Linked DNA regions of Homo sapiens: regions 1 and 2 are each linked to region 3. Evidence: promoter capture Hi-C in 16 types of primary human blood cells and fetal thymus (Javierre and others, 2016). All regions are on one chromosome and are shown on one strand. The core of a region is centred on a gene start or on the middle of the fragment in contact, and the rest is flanking DNA. Distances in the headings are between cores, read along the strand shown.

What was found. The method cuts DNA at HindIII sites, captures the fragments that hold promoters and counts their contacts. A CHiCAGO score of 5 or more calls a contact.
Region 1: a fragment that was not itself captured here is called in contact with the fragment with the promoter of FPR1 in region 3 in 2 of 17 cell types (neutrophils and monocytes); the score reaches 10.7 in neutrophils.
Region 2: a contact is called between a fragment that was not itself captured here and the fragment with the promoter of FPR1 in region 3, in 1 of 17 cell types (monocytes). The highest score is 7.1, in monocytes.

Annotation. Positions count from the first base shown.
Region 1 is chr19:51,613,195-51,616,343 of GRCh38, reverse strand. The region is part of intron 8 of SIGLEC5 (sialic acid binding Ig like lectin 5); the gene reads left to right. It overlaps LOC124904753 (a long non-coding RNA gene), which reads right to left. Exons shown (of 3, transcript XR_007067313.1): 2 at 2,295-2,515; 3 at 628-920. Among named protein-coding and RNA genes, the nearest start is that of SIGLEC5, 16 kb to the left of the region's middle. RefSeq lists a silencer at 528-677. The HindIII fragment of the contact is 7,305 bases long and covers 1-3,149 here.
Region 2 is chr19:51,529,627-51,533,809 of GRCh38, reverse strand. SIGLEC6 (sialic acid binding Ig like lectin 6) reads left to right here and starts at 2,140. Exons shown (of 8, transcript NM_001245.7): 1 at 2,140-2,228; 2 at 2,291-2,650; 3 at 2,851-3,129; 4 at 3,326-3,373; 5 at 3,829-4,086. The coding sequence starts at 2,162. The HindIII fragment of the contact is 5,335 bases long and covers 1-4,183 here.
Region 3 is chr19:51,749,421-51,753,602 of GRCh38, reverse strand. It overlaps FPR1 (formyl peptide receptor 1), which reads left to right and starts at 1,725. Exons shown (of 2, transcript NM_002029.4): 1 at 1,725-1,789. The HindIII fragment of the contact is 1,877 bases long and covers 655-2,531 here.

The DNA.
Region 1 (3,149 bases), core at 642-3,141, 140 kb after region 3:
TGCTTGTTTTCATGCTGCTAATATTGCCACATCTTTTTAGTGCATGTAATATGCTCAGTTTAGCTTCTTGACCAAAGCGTCCTAGTACTTGTGCTTCTAGTGGTCTATCAGGTTCTGTTGGTTTGCTTTTCTTCAAAGGTGCCCAGCCTTCTGAGCTGTGAGCTCACATTCCCCTGGGGTTATTGGCTACTCTGGCAGTGTTTCTTGAATGAGGGAAGGGCAGATGCTGGCCTGTGTCAGGCTTACTGAGCCAAAGAAATGACAGGGACGCCGGGCACGGTGGCTCACGCCTATAATCCCAGCACTTTGGGAGGCCGAGGTGGGCAGATCACCTGAGGTCGGGAGTTTGAGGCCAGCCCAACCAACATGGAGAAACTCCGTCTCTACTAAAAATACAAAATTAGCCAGGTGTGGTGGCACATGCCTGTAATCCCAGCTACTCGGGAGGCTGAGGCAGGGGAATCTCTTGAACCTGGGAGGTGGAGGTTGCAGTGAGCCGAGATCATGCCATTGCACTCCAGCCTGGGCAACAACAGTGAAGCATCGTCTCAAAAAAAGAGAAATGACTGGGACAAGCCCCAGGGTGGATCCCCTCAAGAACCCAAACCACACCCAACCAGTCCCACTTCCTATCACCCCAGTAAGGCAGCTTAAGTCATCCCTCCATCTTCAGACCCTCGTGGAGAAGCAACATTGGTCAAGGACTCTCGTTGCATTGTGATCCACCAGCCCTGGGAGTTTGGAGTGGAGAAAATGGCAAGGAGAATGTCAAAGACCAGTGAGCTTCCACCTCCGTTCTCCTTCTCCTCACCCCAGTGGGCCTCTGGTGCTTACCCAACACATGCCTGTTGGACACTGGCACATCATAATCCTGTCCATACTCTGAATTCTGCAGTGAGGGGCAGACAATGTTTGTCCCACTGGAAGGGTAGAGGAGAGAAAGGAGCAGAATTCAAGTATGTTTGGGCTAACCCATCCTCTCAACAAGCCAGCTGTCCCCCCGCCCAGTTCTCCCACCCCTTTTCTTCAAATGAGCCTTAACTTTCCCCTAGGGATATCAGTGTGATTGATTGATCATAAATTGATTTGTAAAGTTTTGTTCACCCAGGAGCTCCATCTTTAGTTCCATCATTGGTAGGTCTTGGAGAACAGAGCCGGTGTATGAATTCACTCTTTTGACAAGAACTATGGTAGAGAGAGCTTTGTTTTCTCCTTTATTTTACCTTTAACCATTCTGCACACTTTCATGCCATAGGCAGAATGGTAAAGCGAGGCACAGCATGGTCCCTGGAGTTTGACGTCCTGCATTCAGGTTCTAGATTCACCCACTTGCAAGCTGTGTGACCTTGGATAAGCTAATGAACCTCTCTGTTTTTTTGTTTTCTCCTATAGAAATTGGGTTATTAATATGCTAGTATCTGTCTCGGATTGTTACAAGGAGTGCTTAGTAAAGTGGCAAGCTCACAGGGAGCTCACTTATAACTGTTACCCAGTATTACTTTTCCTTCTGTCTAACAAGGAACTGCATGACGGGGAGGTATTTGGGTGGTTTCAGTCTGCTTTATGTCCTCATTTATACGAACGGCATCTAGCCCAAAGAAAGCACTCAGCAAAGAGCTATTGAGTGAAAGGGTGAACATACTGCATTGTCCTATTTACTAATCTGAGCTGTGCCTTTTCTTTCAGTTGTCAATTTCACCCTTTTTATTTCATATACCGCACACCTATTGATAGACATATGTCTTTATTTCTTCCTTTGCCTGCATAATGCTGGTGTGCATAGCCACTTTTTCATTTTATTTCATCTTTCTTGTGCCTAATATAAGCAGCTCTCTCCAGAAAGTCTATTTTTTTCTGACACAATGAAGCCATTTTTCCCTAACTGCGGAGTCCTTTTAAAAAAACTGTATGGCCAGGTGTGGTGGCTCACACCTGTAATCCCACCACTCTGGAAGGCTAAGCTGGGCCAGTCGCTTAGCCCAGGAGTTTGAGACCAACCTGGGTAACGTGGCGAAACCCTGTCTTTACAAAAATTAGCTGGGCATGGTGGCTTGTGCCTGTGGTCTCAGCTACTCAGGAAGCTGAGGTGGGAGGATTGCTTGAGCCAGGGACGGGAGGTTGCAGTGAGACGAAATCACACCACTGCCCTCCAGCCTGGATGACAGAGTGAAACTCTGTCTCAAAAAGAAAACTTCTGAGCTACTGTTTGAAGACTCACGTTGCTTTCAACATATTTTCCATAGCGTGATGGGTAGGGATATGGGTGAAGGTGGGAGAGGAAAGAAATTGCTTACTTGTATCTGGTTACCATCTTTGCTGGGGACAGGATCTGCTCCATTTTGTTTCTCTTTCATGGAAACTGGGTCCAGGATCAGAATTGCCATCTCTTTTCTGGTTTGCACATAAGACACCTTGTAACCTATGCCGAAGGTATACATTTGCTTCATCAATAATCCGCTCCTCCTGCCTAGGTCAGGGTCTATGTCTGATTTCTCACACTGTACGTGCCCAGAACCTGAAACAGGGGAGACAGGGCTGAGTTCGAATCCTGGCCTCGCCATGTATTAGATGAATAACCCTGGGCAAGCTACTTAACCTCTCTCCACCTCAGTTTCCCTGTGTGTAAGGTGGGGATAATTAGAATATCTTTTATACTGTTGTGGGTTTTTTTTTGGTGATGATTCAATGTGATTAGTAAGTCCTCAATATGGTCTGATCAATCATAGTATTACAAAATTTTGAAAGAATGAGCGAATAGTTGAGTTCACAGGAAATGTATATGGACAGGTGGGGCCGGGATTTGAACCCAGCCCTGTCTGCCCTGTGCCGGTTCCTGGGCACGTACAGTGTGAGAAATCAGACATAGACCCTGACCTAGGCAGCCTATGGCCTGTCCTTAGGAGGAGTGGATTATAAAAGGATGAATTGATAAATGTCACATCAGCCCAACTTCCCTGTGGGAACCATTTGTTGTATTTTTCTCTTATTTGGTGTTGAGGTCTCTCTTTGGGGAGTGGTCATAAAATCTAGCCCGGCCTTGAATGGGAACCCCAGAGATCTGGCCATCATGTTCACAGTGTGACTTTCACAGAATACTCCTTTATCCTGGCACACCACCTGCTGCCTGAGTGCCCAGCCTGTGACCCCCT
Region 2 (4,183 bases), core at 1,397-3,896, 220 kb after region 3:
AGAGTGAAGAAACAACCTGTTGAATTGGAGAAAATATTCGCAAACTATTCTTCTGACAGGAGACTAATATCCAGACTATACAAGGAACTCAAACAACTCAACAGGAAAAAGCAAATAATCCAAGTAAAAAGTGGGCAAAGGACAGGAATAGACAGTTCTCAAAGAATACATAAGAACAGCCAATACGACAAAATGGTCAGCGTCACTAATCATCAGAGAAGTGCACATCTAAACCAAAATGAGATACCGTCTTACCCAGTCAGAATGACTATTACTAAAAAAACAAAAAATAACAGATTTTGGCAAGGATGAGGAGAAAGATAACTCTTCTGTACTGTTGGTGGGAATTTAAACTAGTACAGCCACTTTTGAAAACACTATGGACATTTCTCAGGAACTAAAAATAGAATTACTATTCGATCACTCAAGCAATCCCACTACTGGGTATCTACCCGAAGGGAAAGAAAGAAATACATCAAAGAGATACCTGCATTCACATGATTTTTGCTGCACTATTCACAATATCAGAGATATGGAACCAACCTAAGTGTCAATTAACAGATGAATGGATAAAGAAAATATAGTATACATGCTATTTGGCCATAAAAAAGAATGAAATCGTGTCATTTGCAGCAACATGGATGGGACTAGAATTCATTATCTAAATTGAAATAAGTCAGACACAAAAAGACAAATGTTGCATGTTCTCACTTACATGTGGGAGCTAAAAAAATATTATCACATGGAGGTGGACAGTAGAAAGATAGACAACAGAGACTGGAAAGGGTCAGATGGGGGAGGACAGAAGATGAAGAGAAGTGAGTGAAGTGCTACAAACATACAGTTAAAAGGAATAAATTCAGCGTTAGAGAGCAGAATAGTGTGATTTTAGTTAACAAGAATGTATTGCACTCACGTGACGGACACTCTAAATATCCTGACATAATCATTACGCATTATATACATGCAAAAAAATTTTACATCTACTCCTTAAGTTTGTAGAAATAAAAAAATTTACAAATATATGGTGGCAAATTCTAATACCTCATAGGTATTAGAGATTTGCCAGATGCATACTGCACAGAGGAAAATAGAAAACCATGTGAGCTAGACCTAAAAATTTTAATTTTGTCAGGATATTCTGCTCACGTTGTCCAGAAATATGTCTTTTGTGCCACATTTAACTGTGAGAAGCAGATTTTTCACAGGAAAGAAATTGCTAATCTCTATGATGAGGACCTAAAAAAAAATCTCTCCAGTCCACACTGCACTGAGTGGCAACATTAATTCAAAAGAAGTTTCTTCTGCACTGCAGTTCATAAAATATGTGTCCTTTTTGATTTACATGAAGATGTTGCATGGTTCTTATTTTGGAGATGTCATTGAAATTTTGTAAATCAGCGTACTAGCTGTCAAGGAAAAACCTCCATACTCATGTTTTAAAAAATATCTGGCATTCTACTGTGTCACTTGGCAAACTCACCAGTGTCCACAGCTCTAAAGCTAGATAGTGAGGGTGTGTGCTGAGGATGGGAAGCTATGGATGGGGATCATCTCAAGGGTAGGGACCAGGTCCCTGGCATCTCTTCTCCAGCCCGACCTACATACAGATGCTCACTATGTCTTTGGTGAATGAATGAATGAATGAATGAATGAGTGAATGAATGAGTGGCTATCACCCACACTGCACCTGGGACCCTTCTTCCTTTCACTGTCCCAGACACTCCCACAGACCCTACAGAATCCTATATCCTGCAGGACTGACTTTCTCATGGCGTGGGATGAGGCTGTGACTCTCTGGGGCCAGGAGTGACCAGCTCCCAGGTGTAAACAGTGGTGCACAGAAAAGCACCTCAGGTGGGCAGGGCCTTGGACACAGGTTTCGCATTCCTCAGATGCCCCGGGAGGCCCTGGTCCGGGCTCTGTTGCTCACAGGAAGCCCCGAGGTGGGAGGCGGGACACAGTCTCTTCTCCTCTGCTCTTCTTTGGGCAGGTCTCTGGGTCTCAAAGTTTCCGTCTGCTCTGTGCAGAGGGAGTGGAGCTCCGAGGGCTTGTGGCTTCGCAGTTCCTCTTCTGTGAACAGCCGAGATCACGCGCTCCTCCCCAGCCACCCGTTCCTCCCCGCAGTCCTTCCCCTCCACTCCCTTCCCCTTCTCTGCTCATGCAGGGAGCCCAGGAAGCCTCCGCCTCAGAGATGCTACCGCTGCTGCTGCCCCTGCTGTGGGCAGGTGAGTGGGCCAGGGGAGAGGTGCCGTGGGGCTGGGCCGAGCTGACCCTCATGTCTCCATAGGGGCCCTGGCTCAGGAGCGGAGATTCCAGCTGGAGGGGCCAGAGTCACTGACGGTGCAGGAGGGTCTGTGCGTCCTCGTACCCTGCAGATTGCCCACTACCCTTCCAGCCTCGTACTATGGTTATGGCTACTGGTTCCTGGAAGGGGCTGATGTTCCAGTGGCCACAAACGACCCAGACGAAGAAGTGCAGGAGGAGACCCGGGGCCGATTCCACCTCCTCTGGGATCCCAGAAGGAAGAACTGCTCCCTGAGCATCAGAGATGCCCGGAGGAGGGACAATGCTGCATACTTCTTTCGGTTGAAGTCCAAATGGATGAAATACGGTTATACATCTTCCAAGCTCTCTGTGCGTGTGATGGGTAAGGAACCAGCTCCAGGACTAGCCACAGGGGAAGGTCATGGGGGCCGTAGGGCAGGGCTGGGACGGGAGCCCCGTCTTGGGAGGCGGGTACAATTAAGCATGTTGGGCTCAGAGAAGGAGCTGGACCAGAGACTGGGCTTCCCCCTGGGTGAAACCTCAGACCTCCATCCTGATCCTGCGTCCCCATCTCCTCACCAGCCCTGACCCACAGGCCCAACATCTCCATCCCAGGGACCCTGGAGTCTGGCCATCCCAGCAATCTGACCTGCTCTGTGCCCTGGGTCTGTGAGCAGGGGACGCCCCCCATCTTCTCCTGGATGTCAGCTGCCCCCACCTCCCTGGGCCCCAGGACCACCCAGTCCTCGGTGCTCACAATCACCCCACGGCCCCAGGACCACAGCACCAACCTCACCTGTCAGGTGACGTTCCCTGGAGCCGGTGTGACCATGGAGAGAACCATCCAGCTCAATGTCTCCTGTGAGTGCTGGGCCAGGACGCCCGGGTCCCTGAGGGTGTGGGGGGACAGGGCAGGGCTGAGCCAGAGCTTAAAGTTGGGGACCTGGTTGCCAAAGAGGAGAGCCCCTTTCCCTGTTTTCATGGCTCCTGAGGGGAAGGCCCCATGCCTACCATCCCTCCTCAGGGATGTTGAGGCGGCCACCTCTTTCCACCCCAGATGCTCCACAGAAAGTGGCCATCAGCATCTTCCAAGGAAACAGCGCAGGTAGGAACCAGCCAGTCCTGTTCTCTCCAGGGCCAGATGGAAGCAGAGTGGGGACTAACGGGGATCAATATGAGAAGCCAGGACTAAGGCCTCCATAGACTTCAAAGACCTGGACTGAATCTTTGCTCACCCCCAGCCTTTGTCGCCTCTTCGGCAGGAGCTGCCACACCCCTCGCACTCCCTCTTCTCTCTTGCTTGTTTTCCTACTGCCTCAGGCGTCTCCATGGTCCAGGAATGGCACTTGTCTGCCACGACGCTGTCCGCAGCCCTTGCTCCACTCTCTGCAGGACAGCCTGGGCAGCTCCAGGGAAATGGTCTGGGCTTTTCTGAAGACCTGAGGCCCCCACTTTACTAGTCTCCTCCTCAGAGCTAGTGTGGACCCCACAGGAGGAGAGGGACACCAGTGCTTTGCCCCTATACCCCATCTCTAACTCTCTACACCTCTCTCCCCAAAGCCTTCAAAATCCTGCAAAACACCTCGTCCCTCCCTGTCCTGGAGGGCCAGGCTCTGCGGCTGCTCTGTGATGCTGACGGCAACCCCCCTGCACACCTGAGCTGGTTCCAGGGCTTCCCCGCCCTGAACGCCACCCCCATCTCCAATACCGGGGTCCTGGAGCTGCCTCAAGTAGGGTCTGCAGAAGAAGGAGATTTCACCTGCCGTGCTCAGCATCCTCTGGGCTCCCTGCAAATCTCTCTGAGTCTCTTTGTGCATTGTGAGTGTGGGGGGAGGTGCGCGAGAGTGTGGGCAGCTGGGCGAGAGCTCCATAGTATTCAGAGAAGAGGCCCCTGCTAAGTCCTGTCCTCCCTCCC
Region 3 (4,182 bases), core at 476-2,975:
GCATTTATTGTAGACTTTATTTCTATTATTATTATTACATTGTAATACACAATGAAATAATTATACAACTCACAATGATGTAGAATCCGTGGGAGCCCTGAGCTTGCTTTCCCGCAACTAGACAGTCCCATCTGGGAGTGATGGGAGACAGTGACAGATCATCAGGCATTAGATTCTCATAAGGAGCACACAACCCAGATCCCTGGCATGCACAGTTCACAGTAGGGTTCACACTGTTATGAGAATCTAATGCCGCCACTAATCTGACAGGAGGCAGAGCTCAGGCAGTAATGCCAGCAATGGGGAGTGGCTATAAATACAGATGAAGCTTCTCTTGCTCACCTGCCAGTCACCTGCTGTGCAGCCCACTTCCTAACAGGCCACAGACCGGTATCGGTCTGTGTATTGGTCTATGGCCTGGAGGTTGGGGACCCCTGCTGTAATGTGAAGTCAGGAGCTGTGGTAGCTTTCTTGGAGCCATGAAGTGGCAATCCCCAGGAAAAAAAGTCACCATATTAGGGATAAAAAAGAGAAAAGATTAAAATGAATGTAGTTCTTGATGATATTTTCCAGATATAACCTAACCTAGTATTACCCTCTTGCAAAATTCTTGTAAAGTAAACCATAAATTTCGTCTTGGTTCTAAGCTAAGCTTGTCCAGCCCATGGCCTAAGATGGCTTTGAATGCAGCCCAACACAAATTCATAAACTTTCTTAAAACATTATCAGATTTTTGGGGGATTTTTTTTTTTTTTTTTTTTTTTAGCTCATCAGGTATCGTTAGTGTTAGTGTATTTTATGTGTGGCCCAAGACAATTCTTCTTCTTCCAGTGTGGCCCAGGGAAGGCAAAAGATTGGACACCCCTTGTTGAAGCCATTGTTAGGTGTAATTGTAAATTATAAATTACTTAGAATTAAAAACAGCCCGGCTCATGCCTGTAATCCCAGCATTTGGGGAGGCTGAGGCAGGAGGATCACTAAACCCAGGGGTCTGAGACATGCCTGGGCAACGTAGCAGGATACTGTCTCTAAAAGAAAAGAAAAAACAGTCTTAATGCAACAATGCCTTGGTAATAATGCTTTTAGAATCAGTGTCGTTATCTCTGATTCTGTAACTGTCTTACCATATTTCTCCATATCACTCTGATACCCTTGGAAGGATGCTTAACATTTCAGAAAAACGGTTATTTCTTTGGGCTAGAAGACTACAAATGAGCTTCCACAAGATCAGAGGATTATGGGGTTAATCTTGGTGGTGTGCATGGGTGTGGACGCGCTGTCCTGCCAACTGTCTCAACTTCCCCCACTCCCTTACCTCTCTCTGTGTTTCTGGTCTCCATCCCTCATGACTTCTTCTCTTCCTTTCATTGCCTCCCTCTGATTCTTCTCACCACAGTGCTTGCTGCTTTCTTTACCTTGACCCTTGGAGGGAGCAGGGGCCCGGACACTTGGATTTCTTGGCCCTTGTTGTTGAGAGCACTGAACCTCTGCATCCCACAGAGACTGAGGCTGAGAAATACAGTCAGGTACATGAGTTTCTAAACAGGCCCAGCCCACTGTCCTAATGCCATTAAAGCAGACAGTATATTGGTGTATTCTTGGGGCCATCAAAAATCAGAAGAAGCTCAGACTTCCTATTTCCTGCTACCCAGCTGGTTTTAGTTCCTTTACCCCTCCTCCTGTTCCTTGGTGTATGTTTTGCTGCAATCATTAGAGCCTGAGTCACTCTCCCCAGGAGACCCAGACCTAGAACTACCCAGAGCAAGACCACAGCTGGTGAACAGTCCAGGTAAGAAACATATTCTGGGGGACTGGGTAGCTTGACATAGACACACTTAATACACTGGTGAACACAATAGACTCTTTGTTTGAAGAAGGATGTGGAGTTGAAGAATAATTTTTTTAAAGAGGTTCTAAACAGGCCGGGCACGGTGACTCATGCTTGTAATCCCAGCACTTTGGGAGGCCAAGGCAGGTGGATAACTTGAGGTCAGGAGTTCGAGACCAGCCTGGCCAACATGTTGAAACCTCACTTCTATTAAAAATACAAAAATTAGCCAGGCGTGGTGGTGGGCGTCTGTAATTCAAGCTACTTGGGAGGCTGAGGCAGGAGAATTGCTTGAATCTGGGAGGTGGAGGTTGCAGTGAGCTCAGATTGCACCACTGTACTCCAGCCTAGGTGACAGAGTGAGACTCCATCTCAAATAAATAAGTAAATAAATAAATAAACAAATAGGCTCTAGACTTTATTGGGGTCCTGATGGGAATGATGGAATATAGAGACACTATGAGGCTGCAGGAGAGAGAAGGGATAAGTGAAGGAGGGAAGTTCTTGAGTAAATGGGGGAATGAGTTTTATGGGACCAGTAGAGGGTAATTCTTGGATGGAAACACTTGTTTTCTGGTTACAGAGATGAGGGCAGAGAACAGTGATGCAGGAGCCAGCAGGAGGAGAATCTGGTGGAGCAAGAGGCAAGGGCATCAGCTTGAGGGCTTGAGTCGGGATGGGAAAGGATGTTTGGTTTGAAGCTTTCAGGAGAAAGCAAAAGAGCCCTAACGACTTTATGATGGGTCATGGGGAAATGAGTGTAATACAGAAGCAGTCACCTTTCGGATCAGTGATGAGTCTCCACGTGAAGACACTGGTTCTGCATGGTGCATAGGACCCAGTAGCGGAATACAGCCCTGCCCTCTCATGAATCTGCAGACATTGGCTGTCATTTCTCATCAAGCTCCTAGTTTCCTCTTCCGTCACACAGGGATGATGATGTATAATCAATGCTGAGTTTGTTGAGATCAGAGGCAAGAAAGTTGAGGATGTGGTACAATGATTATCAAGCATAAAGTCCTTCATCGATGGCAGCCACCAAGGCCTGTGTTCATTGCAAATCACAGGATTTTTCCCTTGAACCATAATTGGACAAAATTGCACAGGTTTTCCTCTCTGGTATGTTCCAGCTCATTATTGCAGAATCCTCATCATTCATTGCAACAATCTTCTGAACTGGTTGCCTTAGAGATTCTTGAGGACAAAGAGTCCTCAGGGTATTTTGGTGGTTGGATGGGTGGTAGGGGAGGGAGACATCTCTGAGTTGTTTCTGAGATTGTAGAGTATCAAAGTTCATTAGAAATGTGAGACACATATGTAATTTCAAAGTGTCAAGTAGGCACTTTAAAAAGGTGAAGAGAAACATGCGAACTTAATTTTAATAAAATATCTAACCTAAACTTAAATAGCCAAATTATTATCATTTTAACATGTAGTCAATATAAAAACTATTAATGAGATGGTCACAATATTTTTTTCATACTAAGTCTTTGAAATCTGATGGGTATTTTACTCCTACAGCCTGTCTCCAGTTGGACTAGCCACAATTCAAGTGCTTGAAAACCACATGTGGTGAGTGACTAGTGCATTAGACAGCTCTTCTGTGCCAGTAGCGTGGCAGGGCAGAGGCAGAAAGAGACTTTTGCTGGAATTCGACAGCCTGGGCTGTTGGGTGACTTTAAGGAATTAACTGAAATGCTCTAAGTCGCACTTTCCTCGTCTGCAAAATGGGTACCATAAAGACAGTGACCCTCATAGTAACAATTTTGAGGAAGGCTGCTGCAAGCATTAGAAGAGAAGACCAGGCCGGGCGCAGTGGCTCACACCTGTAATCCTAGCACTTTGGGAGGCTGAGGCAGGTGGACTGCCTGAGCTCAAGAGTTTGAGACCAGCCTGGGCAACATGGTGAAACCCCATGTCTACTAAAATACAATTAAAAAGAAAAATTAGCCAGGCACGGCGGCGTGCACCTGAAATCCCAGCTACTCAGGAGGCTGAGACAGGAGAATTGCTTGAACCTGGGAGGCGGAGGTTGCAGTGAGCTCAGATCACGCCACTGCACTCCAGCCTGGGTGATAGAGAGAGACTCCATCTCAAAATAAATAAATAAATAAAATAAAATAAATTAAAAAAAAGAGAGAAGGCCAGCTCTCAGCAAGAACCTGACATGCACTTTGCATACCTGATCTAATGAAATGTCATATCCAATACATATTTGGACTATTATTTCTATCACGGTCTTCTACATCCCCAAGAGTGCTGAGCCCATCCAATGGATGGAGAAGCACCTCCCATCCATCTGGCCAAGGTAACCGCAGAGACGAGAGTGGAAACAGAGTCTGTTGTTCTGACTT